Regions from separate parts of the Homo sapiens genome. Here all the other regions are linked to region 3. Evidence: promoter capture Hi-C in 16 types of primary human blood cells and fetal thymus (Javierre and others, 2016). All regions are on one chromosome and are shown on one strand. The core of a region is centred on a gene start or on the middle of the fragment in contact, and the rest is flanking DNA. Distances in the headings are between cores, read along the strand shown.

Evidence for each region. The method cuts DNA at HindIII sites, captures the fragments that hold promoters and counts their contacts. A CHiCAGO score of 5 or more calls a contact.
Region 1: a contact is called between a fragment that was not itself captured here and the fragment with the promoter of MINDY3 in region 3, in 1 of 17 cell types (M0 macrophages). The highest score is 6.6, in M0 macrophages.
Region 2: a fragment that was not itself captured here is called in contact with the fragment with the promoter of MINDY3 in region 3 in 7 of 17 cell types (M2 macrophages, M1 macrophages, activated CD4 T cells and 4 more); the score reaches 8.2 in M2 macrophages.

Annotation. Positions count from the first base shown.
Region 1 is chr10:16,442,243-16,446,425 of GRCh38, reverse strand. The region is part of intron 1 of PTER (phosphotriesterase related); the gene reads right to left. Among named protein-coding and RNA genes, the nearest start is that of PTER, 7.3 kb to the right of the region's middle. The HindIII fragment of the contact is 8,086 bases long and covers 1-4,183 here.
Region 2 is chr10:16,725,157-16,729,449 of GRCh38, reverse strand. All of the region lies in intron 7 of RSU1 (Ras suppressor protein 1), which reads left to right. It overlaps LOC124902384 (a long non-coding RNA gene), which reads left to right. Exons shown (of 2, transcript XR_007062072.1): 2 at 1-4,293. Among named protein-coding and RNA genes, the nearest start is that of RSU1, 90 kb to the left of the region's middle. The HindIII fragment of the contact is 4,019 bases long and covers 298-4,293 here.
Region 3 is chr10:15,858,622-15,862,593 of GRCh38, reverse strand. MINDY3 (MINDY lysine 48 deubiquitinase 3) reads left to right here and starts at 2,087. Exons shown (of 15, transcript NM_024948.4): 1 at 2,087-2,388. The coding sequence starts at 2,295. It overlaps LOC124902383 (a long non-coding RNA gene), which reads right to left. Exons shown (of 4, transcript XR_007062071.1): 4 at 3,794-3,972. RefSeq lists an enhancer at 2,296-2,345. The HindIII fragment of the contact is 10,196 bases long and covers 1-3,972 here.

The DNA.
Region 1 (4,183 bases), core at 1,571-4,070, 580 kb before region 3:
CAACATGGTGGAAACACGTCTCTAGTAAAAATACAAAAAATTAGCCAGGCATTGTGGTGCACGCCTTTAATCTCAGCTACTCAAGAAGCTGAGGCACAAGAATCACTTGAACCCGGGAGGTGGTGGAGGTTGCAGTTAGCCAAGATCACACTGCTACACTCCAGCCTGGGCGACAGACCAACTCTATCTCAAAAAAAAAAAAAAATGTTGGGGGTGGGGTGGCGTGCATTGCACCTCTATTTGTAAGAGCCTTCTCCCCACCCCCGAACATTCAAGATCAACTATGGTTGCAAGTCAAAGTCTCAGTAATGTCAGTATTGGAAATAGCAAATTCTTTACCACTTATGCACTGAGCTGCTCCGAAATATCTGGCACACAGGAGAAAGAGAAACACTCTTGAAGATGCACTTTACTAAATGATAACGGGGCAAGCTCAAAGCAGCACCAAAGCAAAAGGGAATCATCTATGCCAGGCCTGACACTTATGCAGAAATGTGAGCGAGACTCACAGGCCCAGGACAACTTCTCATCCTAGATATGGAGGCTGAGAGGACTTGGATGGGCTTTGGCCATGTCAGCCCCTCAGGAGGCAGTGTCCTCTGAAGACCACCCAGGAGACAGCATGGCTTCCTTGGTGTCAGCCTGTAGGATCCTTCCTACAACAGCAGGGAATGTTTTCAGAGAAGACATTGGGCAGAAGGCACTAGCCACGCATGGTGCATCAGTGCATCGGAGACAAGTGGCCTCTTTGTAAGTTTCTGTGTTCACCGGATTTGTGCCATGGCTAATAGGCTCTGAAATCAAAGACTGAGCTTGGAGACACTGCAGCCTGAGAGCCTGGGAAATGCTAACTGGGAGAAAGGCACTGACTCATGGAAGTAATAGACATGTCATATGCCAGAGAAGCATAAATAAAAAATGTCTCAAATAATCTAGGCCAAAACTAGGAAAGATACTCTTCCAGCTACTCTTGGATAAGGGTTTCAATAATAATTTTCTTTTTTGTTTTTGAGATGGAATCTCACTCACTCTGTCGCCCAGGCTAGAGTGCAGTGGCACGATCTAGGCTCACTGCAACCTTCGCCTCCCAGGTTCAAGCCATTCTCCTGCCTCAGCCTCCTGAGTAGCTGTGATTACAGGCAGGAGCCACCACGCTCAGCCTCAACAACACTTTTCTACAGAGCGATTGGTAGTTAAAACCATACTCGACTTAATATTGTCTAACATAGGCATGCATACCTCATTTAATGTGTCCCTTATATAGGTATCGAATTTTGCCTCACAGGAGGCCATATATTTCACTCATTTATTCTCCTTTTTAAAAAATAACTTTTATTTAAACTTTTTAATATGGACATTCTCAAAAATTCGCTAATGTAGAGAGTGCAGTGTAGTGAACCCCTACTCATCCATCACACAGCTTCAATAATACATTTCCACTTAAAACAGTTTTAAAGAGAAAAGTGTTTTACAGCCCATTCAAAACCCCAAGTTTTACTTATATACTCTTACATACCCATGTAACAACCCTCTAATATTTCTGACTACCAATTTACTACGTAAGATTCTTTTAAGGATTAAAAAAAACCCTATTATTCTATTCTGAGGGAACATTGTAAAAGCTCGTCAGAAGCAAAGATAGTATGCATTATAGATATGGACAGATAATGTCAAACTGAGGCCTTCTGTGCCTTCACATTCCCCAATATTTCTTTGAATATAAGAGCTTTGCTAGCTGGTTGTGGTGGCTCATGCCTGTGATCCTAGCATTTTGGGAGGCCGAGGTGGGAGGATCACTTGAGCCTTGGAGTTGGAGACGAACCTGGGCAACAGAGTGAGACCCCATCTCTAAAAAAAAATGTTTTTAAATTAACCAGGTGCATCCCTGTGCCAGGAGCCAACCTGGTCTTCCCGAGGGGTAGTGCCCCAGTGAAGACAAAAGCACGAGAATAAAGTTCCCTGTAGGTCCTCTGTCCAAAAAAAAAAAACCAGGCGTGGTATTGAGGTATTGAGCACCTGTAATCCAGCTACTCAGGAGGATCGCTTTAGCCCAGAAGCTCAAGTGAGCTATGATCACCACCACACTCCGGCCTGGGTGACAGAGCAAGACACCGTCTCAAAAAAAAGAAAAGAGGCCGGGTGCGGTGGTTCATGCCTGTAATCCCAGCACTTTGGGAGGCCGAGGCGGGTAGATCACGAGTCAAGAGATTGAGACCATCCCGGCCAACATGCTGAAAATATACTAAAAATATAAAAGTTAGCTGGGCATGGTGGCACGTGCCTATAGTTCCAGCTACTCGGGAGGCTGAGGCAGGAGAATCGCTTGAATTCGGGAGGCAGAGGTTGCAGTCAGCCGAGATCGCGCCAATGCACTCCAGCATGGCAACAGAGCGAGACTCCATCTCAAAAAAAAAAAAAAAAGAAAAAGTTTTTAGCTTCCTAGGCTCACATCTTTTCTCACAGACCTTTCTGTTTTCAGTTGATAGTATCGTGATAATTGTAAGACACAACATATTTAAGCAAGATGAGCACAAGATACCACTTTATAGAAAGAGCAGATAGGACCACAGCATACTCTAGCGATCCTCTGGCCCTTTTTGATGGTACACGTAAGTACATGGACTCATCATAGTAAGTTTCTGATTCGGAGAGGAAATTTTTGGTAAAAATATGTGCGAGTTGTTACAGCAAATATTTGGATGTTTGTCATTCAGACTGCAAGGTACGCTTGATTATGTACATTTTTTTCTTAACTGCTTGATGAACTCTATCCAAGTCATTTAATAATGTTGCTTCCCTTTTTACCTAATTACATAAATGTTTAAAGTCACGAGCATTAAGCTCTCCTCCAAGTAATGTTAGTTAAAAAGAAGTTCCTGAACTGAGGAGATTCTCCAAAGATGTGTAGTCATCACTTGGAAGGTCAAATTTAACAATCAAAGAAAATAACTCCAAAAACAGTAGCTTCCAAACAGACCATTACTATTGCAGTGGAGCATTTTGGGCTCAGTTGTATCTCCCTGCAAAATTTGTCTGTTGCAGCCCGAACCCTCAGCACCTTAGGATGTGGTTGTATTTGCAGATAGTCTTTACAGAAGTAATTAAGTTAAAAGGGGGTTGTTAGGGTAGGTCTCAATCCAATAGGACTGGTGTCCCTATAAAAGATCAATACCCAGACATGCATAAAAGGGAAGACGGCCATCCACAAGCCAAAGAGAGAGACCTCAGAAGAGGCCAACACTGCTGACACCTTGATCTGGGACTTCCAGCTGCCAGAGCTGTGAGAAAATAAATGTCTGTTGTTAAAGCCACCCAGTTTGTGGTATTTTGTGATGGCAGCCCTAGGAAGACAAACATAGTGAGTAATCAAGGTCATCTAATCTAAGCTACAGAAATGGCCCTTAATTACACCTGGGGGCTCTACATTTTATTTCATCTTATTTTTATTGTTTTTGAGACAGAGTATCACTCTGTCACCCAGGCTGGTATGCAGTGGCACAATCTTGGCTCACTGCAACCTTCGCCTCCCGGGTTCAGGCGATTCTCCTGCCTCAACCTCCTGAGTAGCTGGACTTACAGACGTATGCCTGGCTAATTTTTGTATTTTTAGTAGAGATGGGGTTTCGCCATGTTGGCCAGGCTGGTATCGAACTCTTGACCTCAAGTGGTCCGCCTGCCTTGGTCTCCCAAAGTGCTAGGATTACAGGCATGAGACACCACGCCTGGCCTGCAGGCTCTGAATTTATAAAGTGAGAAGAAAATCTGTCAAAAGAGCTGGCCAGGCACATGCAAGTCAACCTAATTCTTATTTACTTATTTAATAGAGATGGGAGTCTCACTGTTGCCCAGGCTGGTCTTGAACTCCTGAGCTCAAGCAATCCTCCCGCCTTGGCCTCCCAAAGTGCCGGGATTACAGCATGAGCCACCGTGCATGGCCAACCTAACACTTTTAAACAAATTCTGATGGCAATCAGATGACAGCTCAGGGCATGGGCTCTGACCAAATAAATCTTTATTTCAATTTCTCAATTACATGGTCGGGCTTTATCTGTCCTCCAAACTGTTAGAGAGCAAGACTGATAACATCTAACCTTTCAGATATGCAAGAATGTAGGAGATGAGACATGTCGAATTGTCAAGGCATAAACATGAGATAACTTTGAGAATTTATGAAAATTTAAAA
Region 2 (4,293 bases), core at 1,058-3,557, 870 kb before region 3:
TGGCCAGGTACTTGGGCTTATCTGTTAATTTTTCTTTCTCTTTCACTGAAACTTCCTGCCACACCCAGAAGAAAACCAATAGCATGGTACTCACAGGGAGGTGAATAGAATTATAATCGAAGAGTGCTCATTTTGTGGGTCTGAATTGGAAGTGTATTTTTGTTTTTGCAATATCACTAATAATGTTTCCTAGCCTTGTGTAAGAATTAAAATGTGTTGCATTTCATTGCAAATTTTCTGTGCCAAGACAAAAGTAGATTATTCTACTCTCACTTTGTGTAACAGGAGGCAAAAGCTTCCATAGATGCTTTATGAATAGTATTTTGAGGCCTAGAAAAATAAGTTGCAGAGTAGCTGAAAGTGCTAATGGAGATAAATACGCGGCATATGTTTGCATAGTGCCTTAGTTTCCTATTGCTGCTATAAACAATGAGCACAAACAGTGGCTGAAAACAGCACCGATTTATTCTCTTATGCTTCTGGAGGGCGGAAGTCTGAGATCTTTTTCACTGAATTAGACTCCACATGTCACCCAAGTCACTTCCTTCAGGAGGCTCTAGAGGAGAATGGCTCCTTGCCTTTCTCAGCTTCTAGTGAGTGCCTGCATTCCTTGGCTTACAGCCCCTTCCTTCATCCTCAGAACCTACCACATCATTCTCTGCTACCGTCATCACATTGCATTCTCCTCTCACTCTGATTCTTCTCCCATCCCTCTTATAAGCACCACTGCAATTATATCAGGCCCACCCAGATAACCTCCCCAACTCAAGATCCTTCACTTATCCACTTCGACAAAGTCCCTTTTGCCTCATGAGCTGATATGCGCAGGTTCCAGGGATTGGGACAGAAATATATTTGGGGAGCCATCACCCCGCCTCCCACACATAGTAACACACCTATGAACCTCATAGTTCCGTTGCGTTTGTGAAAGTGGTTTCTTTCCCCTGCTTCATGATGGGCCTATGTGTCATCTTCTGGATGAGCTGGCTGGTCTGCAGGGTTCTGCCTCACTTCCTGATCCTGATTCCACTGGGATTTGGGTCTGGGTATGATGAAGGGTGTAGGTGTATATGTGACTGATTTTTATTCTTCATATTGGGGAGAAATGAAGTTTATTTTGCTCTCCTCCCTCATTCTATATATTGATATTATGATTAATAGCTTTTGACACCAAACTATTTTGAAATATGAGTCTTTTATGACGTATTTTGACAGCAGCAATGGCATGCTTTTCGCTGTTGTAACAGGAGTAAATGACAGGGGCCACTCGCTCATTATTTTATACCCAAGTAATCAACCAAAGATGTCATGTCCAGAAATAACACTAAAATGTCAACCACCCAAATCTCTTGCAAATAGTCTCATTCAGAGGGTTGGAATCTGCCTTACTGGCAGTTTTGAAAGATACAATTTGTTGAAGACAGGGAGCCCTAAGTGATTTCTTTCTCTCTCCGAGATGCCAGATGGGTGTTGAATGAAGTCCAGTTTTTAGTTTTTCTGTAGATAATTTTTTTAAGTTTGTGGTGGTGTTTCGGATCTTCATCCGTGTGTTCTCCCTCCTCTAGCCCCCCACGGCTACCCACAGCCTGGCAGCGGTATGGTTGCCTTGGTACCTGTTCCTGAAGGCTGTCTGCAATGAAATTTGGTTGTCTAAATAGCACGACTTGTCATCTAAAAGTAGAAGTCATTAGCACGATGCCGTTTGGCTAGTGGTATCTTGAATGCTGTTTTAAAAATTTTCTTATTTTATCACTTTACTGTTACTGTTTACTCATGTCATCACTGGAGATTTCAGGGCCTGCTTCACACTATGGATCCGGAGTGAAAAATACGAAATGTTCTCCCTAAGAGTTTCCCAGAACTTGCGCCAAAAACAGTGGCCCGAGTTGGACATTTTGTATATTTTTAGAGACACAGATTTTGAAATTCCAGCCGTTGTTACCTCGCGTGATCAGTAATACTTGCATATTGGTAGCGGCAATCCATGATTGAACAGCCTTCTGCTGTTTCTGAGGGAAATGAAATTTCTGCCAGCTTCTGTTTGAACTTTAATTGGCCTTCACTGTGGTCGTGAATTTGCCAGAAACACGTATTTATCTCAGAAAAGGTAGCATGTTTTTTAAGTTTGATATAAAAGTTGAATTGGGTGCTTTGGGAGGATTTGTGTCCATTTGCCTCCAATCAAGTTATCTCCTCTGTGAAATTATAACAAAAGATGCAGCCAGGCGGAACATCGTCACTCTTTCCGCCCAGGTGAGTCCACTCTGAAGTCAATGACTCCTGTCACTATAGGTAAGATGGGAGGCCACATCCTGTTCCCTTGTGGTAGGCATCTTGGCAAAAACCACCAACTGGCAGCCTGTGTTGTGAGGAATGCACATTAATTAGTTCCTTGAAACTCTTCCCTCATTAACTTCAGGTAAGTTGTTAAAGCAAATGTTCTGGAGTTCAGAGTGTTGCTTTTGATAATGAGAAAACAAGTTTAGTCATCAGAATCTGTCATCTTGTTTATAAAACAGTCAAACCATATGCAACGCCCTTCTGCATGGTGGATTTTGTTTTGTTCCTTGAACCTACTGGCTCGCTTCATCCAATGCCTACAGATAGTAAATAAAGAGGTCCATTTTTTTAGGTACATTAAATACTACAAATTTTGGGAGGGGAGGTAGAGTAGGAGGGTGGTGGGCAGAAGGCAGCCGGGCCATTTTTTTGGCAACTAATTCAATATGAGAAAAAAGATGGTATTGCTCTCATAAAAGTAATTTATATTCATTGTTTTCAACCAACTGAAACATTCAGAAAGCTAAAAACATTTCAGTCAAATTCCCACCACCTTGAAATAATCAGAAGTATGTTTTGGTGACCATCATTCAAGATACGTTCTTGGCCGGGCGCAGTGGCTCACGCCTGTAATCCCAGCACTTTGGGAGGCCGAGATGGGTGGATCACGAGGTCAAGATATCGGGACCATCCTGGCCAACTTGGTAAAACCCCGTCTCTACTAAAAACACAAAAATTAGCTGGGCGTGGTGGTGGGCACCTGTAATCCAGCTAGTCAGGAGGCTGAGGTAGGAGAATCACTTGAACCTGGGAGGCTGAGGTTGTAGTGAGCCGAGATTGCGCCACTGCACTCTAACCTGGTGACAGAGCAAGACTCTGTCTCAAAAAAAAAAAAAAAAAAAGATACGTTCCTAAGATAGACAGAAAGGTAGGTCAAGAAGCAGGTAACTATATTGACAAATGAAGAAGCATAATATTTTTAAATGTAAATTTGAATCTAAGAAAGGAAAATCAGATGAAGTAATTTCTGAACTTTTACTATGTGAGTCCAAGAATATTAAGCTATTACTTCCTAAAATATTACTGTAAAGTAAAAATAACAATTATTGACAATATTGAGAAGTTTTATATGTATATACACATATATACGTGCATATGTATCTACATTCTATGTATGTTTTATACATATATAACTGTATTTTAAACTGTAATTTTCAAAATAGTTTTGATAGCTTTTTGATTTGTTGCTTATTTGGCTAGATTTAATTGCCAAGAATTTTATTTTTGTTTATTTCAAATATGGTTTATGTTACATATCCTTTGTTCCTGCATACTAGATGCCTTAGTCCATTTTGTGCTGGTTTCACAAAATACTTGAGACTGGGTAATTTATAAATAATAGAACTTTATTTCTTACCATTCTGGGGGCTGGGAAGCCTGAGATCAAGGAGCGGACAGATTCAGTTTTCTGGCGAGGGCTGCATTCCATCTGGTGACACTGCATCCTCTGGAGAAGAGAAATGCTGTGTCCTCCCATGACAGAAGGCAGAAGGGCAAGAGGAATGAACTTCCCTTCTTAAGCCCTGTTATAAGCGCACCGAATACCTTTCACAGGGGTTTAGGTGTGCTTGTAAACATCATGACTTAATCACCTCCTGAAGGCCCCCCGCTCAAGATGCTTTCGTTGATAATTAAGTTTGAACTTGAATTGTAGAGGGAACAGAAGCATTCAGAACCTAACACTTCAGAGTATCTGTTCCTTTCTCATTTAATAGATAATTCGTCTAGGTATAAAAATCTCGAGTCACCTTTTCTTTTACTGGAATCTTGTAGATACTGTCTTTGGGCATTGAATTTCCTTAATGTGATACTGGGGGCTAACTTGAGTTGCCCACTTAATGATGACTTGCTTTCTCTGCTAGGATGTACATAGGATTATTTATTTTTATTTATTCATATTCTCTCTCTCTTCTCCCATCTCTACTATATTTATTAAAGCATCGTACATGTACA
Region 3 (3,972 bases), core at 838-3,337:
AAAAATACAGTTTGAAAGTACAATTTTTTGTTTTTTCATAACAAAGTAATCAAACTTATAACTACTATCTATATTAATGTAAAGGAAACAAATGTAGTGTTATATACACTACACCATTAATATTTACATACATTAATGGAGAAAGTCAAATGTGGAAACACTTCTGAACTTAGAAGTCTGCCAGTTATGAGCTCTATGTACATAGACCCTTCTGTGTCTTTCAGGAAGTGGAAGAATTACGTAAATTGTAATCAGCATGCGAATATTAGATATTTAACTGGAGCAGTCAGTACTACTTCCCCGATCTCTCACTTGCTGAGAGATAATGAATTCTTTATTTCCAGTAAAGGCAAGTTTTGTTCCTTGGAATCGTAATTATTGAGATCCAGTGATGTTCAAGGCCCCATGCTAGAATTATGAATAGGCAGCTCTTTGCTTCCATAAATTTATATCCCAAGAGAAAAGCAAATAACTCTTTGCAAATACAATGATGATAGGAATTGTCATAAGCAAGTTACACATAAGGTACTATGAAGCCTCAGAAATTATAATTATTACTTTCAATTGTAATGACTGGAGAAAGTTTGGCATGCACACTCTGACATGAAGGATAGGTAAGATTTGATTTGCAAAAACAAGGCAAGGGATATTCTAAAGGGAATAAAGATCAAAAGGAATGCTATGGCTCTACTACAGGCACTTTGGGCAAGTCCCTGTAATTACAGTAAAGGGTACTGAAGAAATAAAATTAAATTAATTAAAATAAAATTAGAAATAACGTATAAATAGGAAAAAATAGCTAGTAATAAAGCATAAATTAACAAAACCTTATTTGCAATCTAAAAGATTTTAAATTAAGGGTTAATTTTAATTAGCCAAATGCAAGGGTATTCTACAATGAAACTGCATGTTTTTGAAATTAGAGAACATAACGTATTATACTAAAATACAACTGGCTAGAATTTATGGGTAAAAAAGTCAGAACTACTGTTGCATCAAATTCCCACAAAATGGCTTCTTGAGGTAAAAAAAATACCCACTGTTGCATAAATGCCTTCCATGTGCTAGGAAGTACACCAAATCCTTTGTATGTGTTACTTTTTCCATTTATTCCTTACAATATATGAAATGTATGCAATCTCCCTTTTAGAAAGAAAAAAGCCTAGGTAGATAGTAGGTAACTTGCTAGTAAGTGCAAAAGGTAGGAATATGGGCCAGTATGACCCACAGCTTGGCCTCTTAACTATTGCATTACTGCATCCCAAAGTAATATGGTTTCCAAGGAGTACAGAAACCTTACAGAACCAAAATAAAAGCATGTATTTTTTTTTAAATCAGATTTTGCCCTTTCGTTTTAAATTCAAAGCTCGGGCAATACAAGCCCTCTTTTTTTAAGCAGCACAAACATAAGTTTTCACATGAACTCAATTTAACTGCTAGTTAATGAGTAAAACCTAAACTTTAGTCCAGGTGTTGCCCACACACTCTGCAGTGTCAAAAACTGGAGATGAAAATGCTGTAACATTTACAAACAGGTTGCTCTGAATTTGTTTCCCTACAAATACCTTGTAATTCTGCGTTGCAGCTGGTGGAAGCATTTCTAATGCACATTATGCCACATTCTTTGCCATGTTTTTAGGTAATAGTTGGTCTGACTTTGATTTATTGAAGTACAGAGGCGGACAGCCTCCAGCTTATGAGAAGCGCCCTACAAAGGCACGGATGTTACCGCACTGTGACTCAACTATTGCCTTATAGTTCTAGTTTTGCAAAATTAATATTGAAAAATACAAGCAATGGGCATATGTTCTAATTCCTAGTGCCTGGGCCTCAGAGCCTCCAGCTTAGCCCAGAGCAGTGCGTAGAGGAAGAAGGTATTCCTGGAGTTTAGAAACACGCCGACGCCCCTTCCCAATACAAAAACTACCACCCCACCAAAGGGTCCCAGACAGTTCAGAAAGGTCAGAAGCTACTTCCACCGCTTTCCGTGCCTGTTTCCGCCTCCAATTTCACTTCCGGGGAGGGGACTTCCGGGCCCTCAGCCTTAAGGGGCGGGAGTTAAAGAGGAGTCGGAAGTGGCACCAGCACTTCCGGTACGGAAAACTCGCTGCTGCCCCAACCTGGCTTGACAGGCTTGGTCTCTGCAAGTGGCTCTCAGCCCCTTCTTCTTTCCTGCCTCACCTTCCAATTCGTTTGCCGCCGCCGTCCCGCAGCTGCTGTTTCCGGAGTTGCCCCTTCCCCATGTTCCGGGGCAGGAGTCCGCAAAGCGAAGATCCGCCCGCCGGTTCCTCATCATGTCCGAACTGACTAAAGAGCTGATGGAGCTGGTGTGGGGCACCAAGAGCAGCCCCGGTCTCTCGGACACCATTTTCTGCCGCTGGACGCAAGGTACCCTGGCGGGGCTCTCACACTTGCAGCCGCTGCTTCTTTTGCCCTGCGAGAGTCCGCCTGTGACGCCTCTCGCTCCAGCCCCTCGCGTGCCCCGCTCTCTGCCCCAGTCGCCGTGCTCAGCGCTGAAGCTGGACTTTCTAGACACGCCCTGCCTTGCCTTGGTGGGGAGAGTTTGAGTAGGAGAATGGTTACAGCTGCCACTAAATACCCGCAGCGCTCTTTCCATCCTCCGGGCTGCCCTTCGGCTGGGGAGGAGGAGAGGGTGGCCCCTTGCTGGGTTGCAGGGCGTGACACGGAAGATGCGCCCCGTGCCCCGGTGTCACTTTCTCAAGGGGTGCTGTGGCCTTCCGCATCTTTACCCCCTAACAGAGCTGTCTATTGGTGGTGGTTGGTCTATTTTTGGTGAGAAGGAGGGACGTCCAAGGGAAAGTCCAAGTGGCTAATTCCAAAAAGCAGTTTTTTGTTTGTATTGTCATTATGTGGTTAGGCGTGGTAGTCTGTGTATAAACACTGTTATTTGCTAAAAAGTGTACTCTTGGCCCAAAGTATCCCCGTTTTTTATATGGTTTATTATCTGTCACGGTTAAAAAAGGAATATGGATCATAGTACTTCCTCGGCCGGTATGCTTGTAACCCAGACAGGACTTTTACTTACATGAAGAGTCTTAGTACAAATAATAATGAAATAAAATAAGCATTTATTGAATTCTTGCACTGTAACAGGCTGGGCGCTTTATACTAGTAACTATCCCTAATTCTTAAGTTTGGATAGGCAAACAACTGACACATTCCTAAAGGTGACTTAGGAAAGATGATGATGAGGTTAAAACATAACCTTGAGTCAGAAGGATCAATAATTTATGTATGTAAAACACTATTATTATTAAAACATCTATTTAGGGAACACCTGTTCCCGAAATAGATTGGGCGGAATTTTGGCATAGTAAATATAAACCCCTATTTCAAAACGTGTATTTTGTAACAAAAATTCAGGATTTACGTAATCTCTCCCTCCCTCCCACATGTTTGTTTTAAGAGCTGGTAAAATTACAATTACGATGTATTGTTAAGTTGGGATATTTAGTCCCTCACTGTTGCTTTGCAGGCGAAAAAAATTAGTTGTAAAGGTAAATGACTGGGCCAAAGTTGCACAAATCGATAGAACTGGGAGTGGATTCCAGGTCTCTCGATTCCTAATATACCTCTGTTTTCATTATCTTCCTTTGAGTTCCCAAACCCTACATGTAATGACTTGGGCTCTTTTTTTTCACATTCAATTATGTCAGTTACCTAATCTTGGGCTTCTTAGAGGGAGATTTTATTTTAACACTTCCCACTTTGACTTACTTATTCTAATAGTAAGCAGCTCTAAAATACTGTGAAAGACTAAGAAAAAATTTACTTCCATTGTAATCAGTTAACATTTATTAAACATTTTACAAAGTAGAATAAGATAATATTCAGCCCTGTTTATATTTATACTGTAATGCAAATACAAGGAAGATTCAGGGTGGCAGTTCTAGTAATGGTTAAGAGCACAGTCTGGAATAGATGTACTTGGTTCAGGTTCATGTGATTTAG